Linked DNA regions of Homo sapiens: region 2 is linked to region 1. Evidence: promoter capture Hi-C in 16 types of primary human blood cells and fetal thymus (Javierre and others, 2016). All regions are on one chromosome and are shown on one strand. The core of a region is centred on a gene start or on the middle of the fragment in contact, and the rest is flanking DNA. Distances in the headings are between cores, read along the strand shown.

The links. The method cuts DNA at HindIII sites, captures the fragments that hold promoters and counts their contacts. A CHiCAGO score of 5 or more calls a contact.
Region 2: a fragment that was not itself captured here is called in contact with the fragment with the promoter of NELL1 in region 1 in 2 of 17 cell types (endothelial precursors and monocytes); the score reaches 7.5 in endothelial precursors.

Annotation. Positions count from the first base shown.
Region 1 is chr11:20,668,149-20,670,848 of GRCh38, reverse strand. NELL1 (neural EGFL like 1) reads right to left here and starts at 1,263. Exons shown (of 20, transcript NM_006157.5): 1 at 1,071-1,263. The coding sequence starts at 1,125. The HindIII fragment of the contact is 10,998 bases long and covers 1-2,700 here.
Region 2 is chr11:22,139,382-22,142,081 of GRCh38, reverse strand. The region is part of intron 1 of LOC124902645 (a long non-coding RNA gene); the gene reads left to right. Among named protein-coding and RNA genes, the nearest start is that of ANO5, 52 kb to the left of the region's middle. The HindIII fragment of the contact is 4,574 bases long and covers 1-2,700 here.

The sequences.
Region 1 (2,700 bases), core at 14-2,513:
AGGATGGTAAAGGGGGGAGAATAAAGGGAAAGGGAATGACCACACAGATTCTGGGGTGCAGCGCGTACGGAGGATGGCTGGGTAGGATTGCAAACCTCCGACACTCCCCCCAGTTGACAGGCCCTATTTTTGCCAATTTCCTACATCTCACCCCACCTCACCTCACCCCAGTCTCCCCGCATCTACTACTAGCTCTTTGAAGAAGGCGGCTGCAAGCCAGTCTCCGAACCCCAGGGGACTTTTGGGCAAGGGAGCCGGTGGAAGCAGAAGGAAGAAGATGCGCTGAGAGTCCTCACAACTGCGTCTCCGGAGGCAGAACGAAGTGGGGACTTCAGACAATCAAGCGTCATCCTTGCTCCCCCCTCCCCACACGGAACCCTGCGATTATGGCAAGAGAAAACTGGTTTGAGCTTGAGAAAATTTCCCCAGATTGTCTCCACTGCTCTATTTCCCTCAGATAATTGTTCGCCCAGCCCTTGGGAGCAAAGACAGGCGGAGGAGAATACTCCTGGAGTTCTCCTGGGTAGTCAGGAAGGCACAGGAGGAGATCGCGGGATCCCAGGGTTCTCCCGCAGCTCTCTGCCCTCGCCGCACCGCGCCCTCCCGGGCCCCGGCCGCGCCCGCCAGCCGGAAGCGCTCCCTCTGCGGGTGCGACTCCCGCAGCTACCCCTTCCCAGCCTGGCGGGGGTCGGCGAGAGTGGTTTCCACAGCACCTTACAAGTTCGGGAACTCGGGGCACGCGGGCCCGCCCTGCTGCGGGTTTCGACTCCCTGGGACGGAAAGCCGGTTACTAGCAGCAAGAGGGTGCGCCTACTCGGCCGCGCCCCTCACTCCTGCGCCCCTGAGGCCGGGTCCCCTGAGAAGGGGCACTCAACGGGGACATCTTCAAGCCCGTGAGTCCCTATTTTCACCCTGTCACTCCGAGCAGGGCAAAGAGATCCCAGGAACCGGTCCACGCTACCGCCGTTCCCCAGACCAGCGCAAAGCTCGGCTCCAGGTCTCCCCACGCCGCCGTGGTCTGTGGGCACCCCCATTTCCCGGATCCCTCTAACCGCCACAGTCATGCTTACCTGTCCTGGCAGTGCACACACAGAACCACACAACTAAAATCAAATCCATCGGCATCGCTCTCGAGGGTCCCCGCCTAGCAGGGGGCACCGAAGCTAGGTGGAAGCAAATGAGCCTGGATCCTGAGGCGCGCCTGGCTTGGAGCCGCCAAACTTGCTAGCGGGCGGCGGGGGAGGTGGCTCGGCAGCGCCGGGTGCTGCGCTCGCATATGCGCCCGGGAAGGCAGCCCCGGCCGCCCCGCCCCCAGCCCGCCCCCCACCGCTGGCGCGGCGGCGGCGGCGTGGGGCTCGGGGCCCGGCCCCCCGCTGCGGCTGCGTTCGTCTGGGAGCCCGGGCAGGAGCGCGGGGTTTGGCTACTGTGGCTTGTTGCGCTCCCCACTGGGGGCCGATTCCGTTCGCCTCCTTCGCCCGCAGAACTGCGAGGATCTGGACTGCAGGCGCCGCAGCCGCTATCACCCGGAGCACCGAAGTCGGAGTCCCAGGACCTGCGGCCGAAACGAGAGAGCGGGAGGCGCACGGCGCCCCCACGGCTTCACGCGCTCCAGCCCCTCCGAGCCGCAGTCGCCAATGTTGCCCTCTTTACTTCCGCACCGCGGTGGGGGCTGCCGAAGTTGCCACAGTTCATCCCCGCCGAGTCGAAAAGCCGCCGAGCCCTCGCGGGTGGGTATTTTTCCTCGGGGGAACCCAGACCGAGGCGGCGCCACCGAGCGCGCACGGACCCCCTCGGAAAACAATTACTCGGGATTCGCTCTGTCAACTGGGTGGGGAGGGACCTGAGGGGGATGATGGCTGAGTCCCTGCTCACCGCCTGTACCTTCTGTCTCCTCTCTCCTGTTGAACCCCTATGACTGAGTACTCTCTTTGTGGGTGCAGGAAGAGGGCGCTGAGGTGGGGGTGCAGAAAAGGGGTCCTCGAGGCGGAGCGAGCTGTGGTTGGGGTTTGGGAAGTCTATTTGCAAACCTTCTCATTCTGCAGGGCAGATGCTGCCACATAGGGGTAATTCCTAACCATCTTTTTTTCTTTCTTGCGTGATTTTCTTAATGGTATTATCAAAAGCCCACTCTTCTTTCATAGTCACATTTTGGCCCCATGTGCAATTCCTCCGGGACCTCCACCTTCTTTTCCCTCTCCCACCACAACATTCTCTGGAGAGAAAAGCTGGGCTGGGCTTTGTTTTCTACTTGCCGGCAAGAAGAGAATGGGTCCTCTCCCCTCTATGCGACCCTTTCAGGACCTGACCTTCCCTATGAAGATCCCCCAAATTTAAGACTTCTGTCCCACTTCCTATTTGTCCTACTAACACCTAGGAACGTTATTTATAACTGGATATGTAGAGTCATGAAATCTGAAATGACAGCCTCTGATTTATACCAAATGAACTCCACTTAGCTTGCTCAGTCTTCCCACTCTCTCTGAAGCCCCCGCTCCCCCTCACCAGCAGTACTCCTTTGATATTCACAACAGGGATCCCAGAGGAGTCCAAGGAAACCTCAGAACAGCCGTCCCTCGTTTCCTGGAAACCAATTCCAACGTTTCAGAATCCTCTTCACTAATAAGAACGTGCCCTTCTCACTTGCACCCACTTTCACTTCCTATATCCTTAACCCCTACACAACTTTGACCCCAGGAGCCC
Region 2 (2,700 bases), core at 152-2,651, 1.5 Mb before region 1:
TTGAACCCGGAAGGGGAAGGTTGCAGTGAGCAGAGATTGTACCATTGCATTTCCGCCTGAGTGACAGAGCGAGACTCTGTGTTAAAAAAAAAAAAATCATTTTAACGAAAGAATAAAAAGGAATTATGACAATGGCAATATTGATGATGATACGGTATGAATGGTTTTCAAGGGCAGCCTACCCTCCTCAACCTCCATCTCTGGATTCTTCTTTATTGCTATAATTTCTGGAATTTATAAAGCCGTGTTAAGTATGAGAATACACTGTAACTATGTAAGTCTATACTAATTTCATATTAATCGAACAAATTTTTGTTTTTAAATCCCACTTGATCCTAACAAACACTTTATGAGGCATTTCTCCGCTCTCCTAGATAAGCAAATAAAACCTAGTAAAAACTAGACTGGTTCAAGGCAAAAATAGTAGGCCACAAACACAAGAAATCATACAGTTGTCATATGATATAATTACTGAGAAATCATTTTTAACTTACTTATAAATTAATTTATTTGAGAAACATTTGGTGAACCTTTAAAATGTACCAAATACTGCACCAATGCTTGTAAAATGCTTAAAATATTTCTTGGCTCATAGTGATAGCTCAACAATTATTTGTCCCTATCCTCTAATTCAACAACACAATAATGATAGGGTTGGAAAAACTTGACAAAAGCATAGACAATTAGTGATTCCAAGATTGAATGAACACACATATGTCAAGGATGTAGCATATTGCTTGGTGCTTGGGAGATACTCAATTATTTTAAGTTTTGTCTGAACCACACTCACCCTTTGACTTATCAACTTAATATCAAATATTATACGAGGTAAATACAAGATTTCTTAGATTTACTGGTGGAAGGGGGATGTGGATAAGAATTATAGACACAGTTTTTGTGTGATTCTCACATTTCTTAGCTACTTCTTCAATAAAATTATTTCAAAATCATAGAACGTTAGAAATGAAAGTGGTAATAGGGAATATTAGGTTTATCTTATCAATAGGCAGTTGGAATAATGAAGTGACTTTCCCAAGGTCACATGGCAAATTAGTGACAGAAGTGGGAATAGAATTCTTGATTCACAAGAAAAAGTTTATCCAGTTAATTCACACTTAATAGTTTATACATCAAATTCTAAATTCCCTATTATTCATTGAAAAATTTTTACAAAGGGGAAAAAATGAAGGAAAACCAAAAGTCTCTATTGTATGCCATCAGGAAAAAATGGATCTTTGATAACCTTGGTTGTCTAAGGACCTTGGCATTTTTTACCATCTGAAATGCAAGTGCTATCTGGAATGCTAATCTGAGTACTGACTTTTATGTCAATGTTGAGGATGACTTAACAATACCACTGTTTGTAGAACATTTTCTGGGAAACTGAAGGACTACAACATTTTGTGCTTTGTCTTCACAATTGAAATTAACAAAGGTGGAAAATTCCAAATAAATTTTCCCTTGTATTTTCCCATAATAGGAACATTTTAAAGATGTATCCCTCATCGAGGGAATAATTATAGACTATCTGGCTTTGCCCTTTAGTGCTTGCCAAGAAAATAAGAAAAACCATTCTTTGACAAAACTTTTGAACATAGCAAAAAGACTAGAATCATTCTGCATGTTTTTTGAGGGCAGAACTAAACCTAATGTAACAAAGTGACAAAGAGGCAAGTTTTGCCTTATTTTAAGTACAAATTGTCTTGTAAGCCCCCTAGCTCCAAGCACAGTGCAAAAGATCCAATAGGTTTCCAGTAAGTATTTACTGATTTCTGCATCCAGTTTACCTGAGCTTATCTTTGTCTTGGCACTTTCATCCTATATTGCCTGCTTACTTTACAGTACCTCAATATAGACTGCGAGCTACTTGAAGTCAAGAACTGAATCTTGTTTGTTTTAGTCCATTCAGGCTACCGTTACAAAATACCATAAACCAGGTAGCCTATGAACAATAGACACTTATTTCTGTTGGTGTCTGGTGAGGGTCAGCTTTCTGGTTCATAGACGGTACATTCTTGCTGTGTCCTTACATGGTGGAAAGGGGGAATAAATTCCCTTGGGCTTATTTTATAAAGCTACTAATCCCATTTACAAGGGCTCTGTCCTTTTGACCCAATCACTCTGCAATAGGCACTAGATCTTTTTTTTCTTTTCAGGTGGAGTACCACTTACTCTATTGCCTAGACTGCAGCATAGTGGTGCTATCTCAGCTTACCGCAACCTCTGCTTCCCAGGTTCAAGCGTTTCTCCTGCCTCCGCCTTCCAAGTAGCTGGGATTACAGGCATGCACCACCACGCCAGGCTAATTTTCGTACGTTTAGTAGAGACGAGCTTCTCCATGTTAGCCAGGGTGGTCTTAAACTCCTGACCTCAAGTGATCTACCCTCCTTGGCCTCCCAACGCATTGGGATTATGGCTGTGAGCCACCGCGCCCAGCCAAGGCCCTAGCTCTTAATACCATCACCATGGAGGTTAGGTTTCAACATATATTCAATTTGTGGGGTGAGGGGATACAAACTTTCATACTATAGCATTGTTGATTAATGTATCCACAGACCTAACACAGAACTTGCCACATTTTAGCATTTAATAAGTTGTGGAATAAAGAAAAGAAAAAAAAAGAAGGAAGTAGGAAGAGAGGGAGAGAGGAGAGAGGGTGGGAAAGAAGAAGGAATTGCATCAGAGTTGTTCACCAATGGA